Linked DNA regions of Homo sapiens: region 1 is linked to region 2. The links are contacts of gene promoters, found by promoter capture Hi-C in blood cells and fetal thymus (Javierre and others, 2016). All regions are on one chromosome and are shown on one strand. The core of a region is centred on a gene start or on the middle of the fragment in contact, and the rest is flanking DNA. Distances in the headings are between cores, read along the strand shown. Region 1 overlaps FGGY (FGGY carbohydrate kinase domain containing). Region 2 holds the start of JUN (Jun proto-oncogene, AP-1 transcription factor subunit).

Region 1 (4,265 bases), core at 123-2,622, 520 kb after region 2:
GTGTTCATCCTTTTTGTGCCACAATCTGCAGACATATCCCAGGGATTAAACTTGAGCCATTGAAGGACTTATCTCATTTTTTCCCATCTCTGTGTGATTACTCTGTTGCCTGATGTCCAATGTCATGAGAATCTTTGTTTTCTATTTTTTTCCCCATTGTTTTAAGCAGGGAGGTAAATATGGTTCCTGTCACTACATCTTGGCTGGAATTGGAAGCATTCAACTAGAATTTTTGAGGAAAATATAAATAAGGGACTATCTAAAGATGTGAGGAGGGGATTTTTGAGGTACTCAGATACCAATAATAAAGGGGAACTTTTACCACTTCAAGGTGCTAAGAGCATGGTGAAGGAAGTATATCAGAGGGAAAAACATAAGCTATAACTAAATTAGGATAATTTTCAATAAAAGAACTATTGAGTAAGTGAGGGCAGCCTGAATGCCTGGGTCTAGTAACAGTAAGACTGTTACATCCTTAGACCCAAAGGGGTGAGGGAAGGACTGGTTACCAGAACCCAAAAGGAGAAATCGTGTGGAGAAGCCTGCCTGGAGAGGATCTGTTATTTTAGCCCAAGAGAAGCAGCTGGCCCAGGCCAACTCTACAGGAAAAGAGGCCTGACCTTACTCTTCTCCTTCCTTTGAGGCTTCAGCTAGAGCTCTCCATTGCTCAAACCCAACTAGAAGACAGAGGATTAGAGAGTCTTGGAGATCCAGATTATTGTCCCCAGGACAGATAGCAGGGAGGGAAGGTAGAGAATGGATATGTAGTTGGGGAAGAATATACAGTGACATATGTATAGAGTGCACTTAGGAAGGATAGGAAAATCAAATAAAAATTGTTCAGGCTAAATATATTACCAGTCCCTTAACCATCTAGATTTGGGGCTGAGCTACACTGAAATCCATTGCAGATTATGCTGAGAGCTGAATAGCTTGGATTCTGCTAAACAGGCTATGGGAGAGAGATTAAGAAAGGACTCGGTTGCTGACTGGATATTGCAAGATGAAAATTGAGAAGAAGACAAAGTCTATAAAATGAAGAATGAGGCCAAGCACGGTGGCTCATGTCTGTAATCTCAGAACTTTGGGAGGCCGAGGTGGGAGGATAGCTTGAGCCCAGGAATTCGAGACCAGCCTGGCCAACATGGCAAAACACCATCTCTATAAAAAATCTAAAATTATTGTGTCATGATGGTGCATGCCTGTAGTCCCAGCTACTCGTGAGGCTGTTATGGGAGAATGGCTTGAGCCCAGGAGGTCGAGGCCACAATGAGCTATAATTGCATCACTACACTCCAGCCTGGGTGATAGAGTGAGACCCTGTCTCAAAAAAAAAAAAAAAAAAAAAAAAATCGAGTGATTTAGACAGATCAAACTCAATCTAGTTAACCAAATATTGGGATTGTAGAATTATGTGGCAGCTTTGACATTTGAATAAGGCTATTGTTAGGATCTTTAAAAAATTGTCATGTGACATAGTAGAAAGAACATAGGATTGAAATCCTTCTCTGTTATTCACTGACTCTATGACCCTGACAGGTGACCTAACTGCTCAGAACCTTGGTTTCCCATCTAAAAGTTGCAGAAAAGATTAGCAAGGCCATCTGGTAAGTCACTGGCACCACATCTTGCACAGAGTAAATGTTCATAAGAAATTTATTGATGTAAGATGAGGGTTGGCTCAAAATATAAGTAAGTCTAAAAAGCATTTGGATTCATGTGAAGCTACATATTGATAAAACACAGATAACACTAATTCTAGTGAACCCTTAAGGGAAGAATAGTGTATTTGACAAGGATTACCTCAAAATTCCCCTCAAAGACAGTTTGTGAAGAAGCCCCAGCTCCCTTTCCCTTCTCCCTTAAAAAGCAGATTATTTTTTATGTTAGTTAGAACAAACTATAGATAGTTTGTTCCTATCAAGAACAACTTATCCTTGTCAGAGATTGGATGCTGGGCTGGATGGGCCAGTGATGTGTCCCAGCATGTGTTGCATCCAGGGGGTCTCCAGGAAGGGAGAGGGAAAAGGAAGACTTCCTGTGTGCTTACCGTGTGCAGCTAGCCCAGCTTACCTCATCTCCATGCAGTGTCATGTAGAAACATGGGTGACTGAAGATCATTCTAGTTAAGTATGGTCAGTGCCTCTTAATGCTGCTGCTTCTCTTTTTATTTTAGAAAACCATGTCATGGAGGAAAATTACAGGAACTTAAAATGTATAGCATGGAGAAAAGAAGACCCAACAGGAGGTCATGAGAGTCATCTTAAAACATTTGAAAGGGTAGCCCATGTATAAGGGTAAAAAAGGCTGTTTGGATGATCCTTTGGGATAAAAATTAGGACTAGAGGGTAGGAGCTATACTAAGCACAGTTCAACTCAATACAGAGAAGGTCTTCCTTCCTATTACTGTAATAGCTGCTCATTGAGAACATTCAGACAGCACAGAGAGGGACAGGTAAATGGCCTCCAAACCTCCACTATATTTCTTTTTGCTGGATGTCATTGCAGTAAGCAGGTTTTGTGTGTGTTTCCTGAAATCTTTTATGATAGGTCTTTATACAATACAGTGGTTCTCAAACTCTAGCATCCATCGGAATCACCTGGAGGCCTTTTTAAAGCACAGACTGCTGAACCCCACCCCAGTGTTTCTGAGTCACTGGAGCTGGAAGGGGGCCTGACTTTGAATTTCTACCAAGTTCCCTGGTGATACTAATGCTGCTGCTCTTCTAGAGACCACGAATGGCCCTGTTAAAATTTGAGAAAATAAAAGTTTGAGAACCACTGTATTGCATGAAGAAAATAGAGCTTTTGCTCTATTCTTTATTAAAAAATAATACAAATGGCATCATACTGTATCATCCAAGAACTTGCTTTTTTAGTTAATAATATATAATTAGCAGCTTTCTTTTTTTCTCATTCAACAGCTACTGATGTATCAATTTTAGAAGTCCCCTATTAATAATCATTTAATTTGCTTCTAGAGTGTTTGTGGATATGTTCTTGCCTTTACAAAAAAAGGTTGTGGTGGATTTTTTTTGTATCTTTTTGATGAGTCAGTGCATAAATTCTTAGAAGATAAATTCTTAGAAGTTAAACTGTTGGGTAAAAGACTTGATTTTAAAAATGGATAGATAGTACTAAATTATTCTATCAAAGATAGAATCACTTTTCTATGAAAAGTGTATGAAACAGCCTGTTTCCCACACTTTTGCCAAGTGGGTATTATCAAAATTTTCCAGTTCCTGTTTGTTAGGTGTAAAATTATATCTTAGTGTTGTTTTGATTTATATTCCTACACTATTTGTCAGTTGAAAGATTCCTATGTATTTATTTTTCTATGAACTATAAGTTTGTATTCTTTGCATTACAGGTAGAGGGAACAGTATGAACAAAAGCACCAAGCCTTCCTTTGAATAGTTTCTAGTAGTTTTGTAGCATTGAAGTACGAAGGTTGAGGTTAGGGAGAGAGGCAGGGAGCTAAGGTTAGAAAGTCAGGCAGGGGCCTGAGCTTAGAGGTCCTTTTGGGTCAAATAAAGATATTGGGCTTTATTTTGGGCAGAAGAAGCATTGGTGCTGTTTAAGCTTGTACTTTGGTTCGTGGTACTTTTGACAGAGCCATGTTTGTGGAATGGTCAAGTCTAATGTTTAATCTTCAAATAATTCATTCTTTAGTCCTTTCACCTTCGGCCTTAAAGCTACCAGACCAGGGCCAAGCGTGGTGGCTCTTGCCTGTAATCCCAGCACTTTGGGAGGCCAAGGTGGGCAGATCACTTAAGGCCAGGAATTCGAGACCATTCTGAGCAACATGGCAAAACCCTGTCTCTACTAAAAATACAAAAACAAATTAGCTGGGTGTGGTGGTGTGTGCCTCTAATCCCAGCTACTTGGGAGTCTGAGGCAAGAGAATTGCTTGAAACCCAAGAGGCAGAGGCTGCGGTGAGTGGAGATTGCACTACTGCACTCCAGCATGGGTGACAGAGTGAGGAAAAAAAAAAAAAAAAGCTACCAGACCAGGCTTCATAAACTGGTAAACATAAGAATGGGCCAAAGACTTCAACCCATCTGTGACTTGGCATTGTCTCTGAGGGGGGAAATTTTGCATGATCGCATGGAGAATGGATTTTGTTGCTTTATCTGATATTGTCCTCAGCTCCTCCTGAATTTGCCGAGATCTTACAGCAGTCAGTAAGGTTGGTGAGTTCTTTCGTTGTTTTAATTTGAGTGACTTTCTGGGAAAAACTGTGGATTTCGGCCAATATGCTGAT
Region 2 (4,385 bases), core at 994-3,493:
TTCCGTTCGCGCGGGGACAGCCCGTCCGCAAAGCGGGGCAGCCCGCAGGCGGCCGCTCCCTGGCTCCACGCCAAGGGAGGGCGCGCCAAGTCCTTCCCACTCGTGCACACTGGGGGCGCCGTCAGGACGCAACCCAGTCCAACTTGGATACCCTTGGCTTTAGTTCTCGGACACTTCTTTTTTCTCTCCGTCGCAACTTGTCAAGTTCTCAAGTCTGTCTCTCTGTGTTATTTTTTTTCTTCGTTGCCCCTCAGCCCCCGACGGTCTCTCTTCAAAATGTTTGCAACTGCTGCGTTAGCATGAGTTGGCACCCACTGTTAACGTGGTTCATGACTTTCTGTTTAAGCTGTGCCACCTGTTCCCTGAGCATGTTGGCCGTGGACGCCAGCTCCGAGTTCTGAGCTTTCAAGGTTTTCACTTTTTCCTCCAGCCGGGCGATTCTCTCCAGCTTCCTTTTTCGGCACTTGGAGGCAGCGATGCGGTTCCTCATGCGCTTCCTCTCCGCCTTGATCCGCTCCTGGGACTCCATGTCGATGGGGGACAGGGGCGGTGTCTCGCCGGGCATCTCGGGCACTGTCTGAGGCTCCTCCTTCAGGGCCTGCAGCCGCGGGTGCTGCACGGGCATCTGCTGGGGCAGGTGGTGCGGCGGCTGCTGCTGCTGCTGGGGTTGCGCGGGAAAGGCCAGGCCGGCCGCGCCGTAGGAGGGCGCCCCGCCGCCGCTGCTCAGCGCGCCTGGGTTGAAGTTGCTGAGGTTTGCGTAGACCGGCGGCTCGCTGTGCAGGCTGGCGCTGAAGCCGCCGCTGCCGCTGCCCCCTGCCACCGAGGCTACCGCGGGAGCCACCATGCCTGCCCCGTTGACCGGCTGCGCCGCCGACGTGACGCTGGGCAGCGTGTTCTGGCTGTGCAGTTCGGCCAGGGCGCGCACGAAGCCCTCGGCGAAGCCCTCCTGCTCATCTGTCACGTTCTTGGGGCACAGGAACTGGGTGGGGGTCGGCGTGGTGGTGATGTGCCCGTTGCTGGACTGGATTATCAGGCGCTCCAGCTCGGGCGACGCCAGCTTGAGCAGCCCCACGTCGGGCGAGGTGAGGAGGTCCGAGTTCTTGGCGCGGAGGTGCGGCTTCAGGCTCCCCACTGGGTCGGCCAGGTTCAGGGTCATGCTCTGTTTCAGGATCTTGGGGTTACTGTAGCCATAAGGTCCGCTCTCGGACGGGAGGAACGAGGCGTTGAGGGCATCGTCATAGAAGGTCGTTTCCATCTTTGCAGTCATAGAACAGTCCGTCACTTCACGTGAGGTTAGTTTGGGCTGCGCGCACAAGTTTCGGGGCCGCAACAGGGCTGTGGCAAGCGGGGGACACCCGCGCCCCCCGGAGCCTTTGACAGGGAAAGTTTCTCTAAGAGCGCACGCACCCGCTGGCTGTCGTCCCCGCTGCGCCCTCCTCACCAGCTCGCTCCAGGGAGCGCAGGGTTAATTAAGATGCCTCCCGCACTCTTACTTGTCGACTCGCGCGCGCTACCCGGCTTTGAAAAGTCGCGGTCACTCACTGAGCGCTCTTCGTGCGCAGCGGTTCCTCGGAGTCCGCAGGCGAACTCACTTCCCAGAGCAGCGGCTCTCCCCGCGGAGCGGATCAGTGCGGACCCTGCAGTGGCCGGCCGGCGGCGGGTCTTGGCCGCCCGGACTCCGACGACTTGTCCCCTCCTCCGCTGCTAGGGGGAGGGGGCGCCCGGCAGCCGCGGCTCGCGCTCGCCCAAGTTCAACAACCGGTGCGAGCGAAGCTGAGCGCACGTCCTTCTTCTCTTGCGTGGCTCTCCGCCGCCTTCTGGTCTTTACCGCCGTGGAGAAGCCTAAGACGCAGGAAAGGCTTGCAAAAGTTGGCTCCGGGACTCTGCCACTTGTCTCCGGTCCTCCCAGCCGGGAAAGTTCTTTGCTGCTGCAGCCGCTCGCCGACTTCCCCCGGCGGGCGCGTGGGTACCGCTGCTTTCCGCCGCTGTCAACAGCGCCTGGGCAGCAGGGCTCTCCTCCCGGGGGCGGCTGGAGACCAGGCTCTCTGGACACTCCCGAAACACCAGCCCGGGAGCCACAGGCGCTAGCTCTGGGCAGTTAGAGAGAAGGTGAAAAGAAAATAAGATTTGCAGTTCGGACTATACTGCCGACCTGGCTGGCTGGCTGTGTCTGTCTGTCTGCCTGACTCCGCGCACCTCCACTCCCGCCTCGCTGCTTCAGCCACACTCAGTGCAACTCTGAGCCCTTATCCAGCCCGAGCTCAACACTTATCTGCTACCAGTCAACCCCTAAAAATAGCCCATGATGTCACCCCAAGGCCTTCCCATTGGCTCGCGTCGCTCTCAGGGGGGCGGGCCCGCCCGTCACCATGGAGACTCCACCCTAGAAGATTCTTCTCTGGGCCCGCGGAGGCTCACGGGATGAGGTAATGCTCCGCTGCCCTCCTACAGTCGGGCCCTTCTTTCTCCTACCCTCCCCCCTGCCGCACGCCTCTCGGCCCTCTCTTCCCCGGTCCCCTCCCCGGGCCGTTTTTCCCGGCCCGCCCGGTGCATTGTGGGCTGACGTCTTGGGGTTTGACTGTCTAGTGACGGTGGCTGCCGCGAGCGGGCGGACGCTCGCAACCTCTGATGGAGGGGGGCTCAAGTTCACGGCTGCGGACGGGGATGCGGGGGATGCAGGGACCCGGGAGGCCAGGGAACCTGGCCAGTTGTTTTGGGCCAGGGGTGCGGGCGAGGGGTGGTTGTTGTTTCCCCACTTGTGGGGCCCGAAGTCATCCACCGGCGGCCGCCACCGCGCGGGGCTGGAGGCTGAGAATCCAAGTACGCTGCCACCCCCCCGCACTTCCGGGGGGGCGGGAATACCGCCCTTAAGGTGGCTCTGTGAAGTCCCAGGTGGGGGCGAGCCTAAGGGGACTTAAGTTTAGGGGCGGTCTCCCGAGAGTCGGCCCCCCACGTTGAGAACACTCCGAAGTTTGCATCTCGGTCAAGTTCAGGAGCGACGGTCCGCGGGGTCGTCTGGCTGCTCGTAGAAGCCGAGAGATTTGTATTGCCCGAAACTGGACGCTCAGCTGAGTCTCCGTTGCACCCCACTTCATCCTCCGGGACCGTGGGGGAAAGGGCGCGGGGGTTCACAGCTTTGCCTCGGAGGGGCAGTTTTTATAGTGGGCGCAATTGGTGGGTAACAGGGTCCAGATGGGAACAAGCGTGTAGGCGATCCGAAACTCGGGGAACCCCGGTGTTAGTCTACTCCCCCTCCCGCCCCCGGACAACACGCACACGCTTAACACAACACGCACAACATAACGCGCGCGCGCGCGCACACACACACTCCATCCGCGCCGAGTTGCTTCCGGGAAAACAAGCCCAGAAGGCGGCGGACACTCGCATAAAGTCACGCAGTAGTACTCGGAGCCCGGGGTAGAACCTGGACTTCAAATCTCTGCACTCCCGGCCGGGTGGTGGGCGCATATCCTGGGTAGCCTCTAGGAAGCGCTAGACACATGTAAGTGGTTCCTTTTCCGCGGTTATTTTATTCTCCCCCCGCCCCCCACCCCTTAGGGACGAAAGTGTGTGGTGGAAAGAATCCCGAAGTCGGGAATCCTGGTTCTTTCGTGGCCAGGCTACCACAGTGTGAAGCAAGCAAATCACGGAACTCCTCCGAGCTTCATTTCCCTCATCTGCAGGTGGGGCCGGTGCCGTCCACCTCACTGGGCTGCCAGGAGTTAGTGTGACAGGGTCGCCTGCAGCACTAGGGAGGTGGTGGCCAAACAGCCCGCTTCCCTCCCCTGCCTCGCAGTTTCCATCCTCGCAGAGCCTGGATAGGATGCCAGGATATAAGAGTGCGATTTGGCAGGACCAGGTGTACTTTCCTGTGAGAAGCATCGAGGGGAGGAGGGGAGGGGGAACCGGGTTAGAAGTCAGATCTTTCCCAAGCCTCTGTCTAAAACTGGGGCTTGAAGTTGGACCTGCAGCAGTTTAAGTTCCTAGGTTCTAAATTCAGACTTCGCTGCTTCTGAACTTGGAATTCAGCCTTGGGTTCATTGCCCCCAGCCCTAAGGTATTTGCGGCTTTGAGTGTTCAGAAACCAACAGCAGCTGGTATCAGTGGGAAACCTGCCAACTTTTCTTCACTCCGGGCACTCACCTAGCTTTCACTGATCTGCAGAGGGTAACTGAAAGCCTACTGTGAGCCAGGCACTGAGCTGGGGAGGGGGTGGGGTAGGTAGGTATACAGTGATGACAAGATCCAGTTGCTTCCTCAAGGAGAGAACATTCTCCTCTGTCTGTTGCCCTGAATCATTTTCTGTTGTATTCAGGGAGTTGGTGTTCTAAATATTTTTTAATAACAGTAATAAAAATCAGTTTCATGTATTAAACACTTATTAT

Evidence for each region. The method cuts DNA at HindIII sites, captures the fragments that hold promoters and counts their contacts. A CHiCAGO score of 5 or more calls a contact.
Region 1: a fragment that was not itself captured here is called in contact with the fragment with the promoter of JUN in region 2 in 11 of 17 cell types (total B cells, total CD4 T cells, naive CD8 T cells and 8 more); the score reaches 8.7 in total B cells.

The regions. Positions count from the first base shown.
Region 1 is chr1:59,305,987-59,310,251 of GRCh38, forward strand. All of the region lies in intron 1 of FGGY (FGGY carbohydrate kinase domain containing), which reads left to right. Among named protein-coding and RNA genes, the nearest start is that of FGGY, 11 kb to the left of the region's middle. The HindIII fragment of the contact is 4,416 bases long and covers 1-3,580 here.
Region 2 is chr1:58,781,804-58,786,188 of GRCh38, forward strand. It overlaps JUN (Jun proto-oncogene, AP-1 transcription factor subunit), which reads right to left and starts at 2,244. Exons shown (of 1, transcript NM_002228.4): 1 at 1-2,244. The coding sequence starts at 1,267. The coding sequence ends at 272. It overlaps JUN-DT (JUN divergent transcript), which reads left to right and starts at 3,348. Exons shown (of 2, transcript NR_108106.1): 1 at 3,348-3,502. RefSeq lists silencers at 41-216, 604-683 and enhancers at 354-533, 1,942-2,689, 2,204-2,463, 2,690-3,435. The HindIII fragment of the contact is 7,855 bases long and covers 1-4,385 here.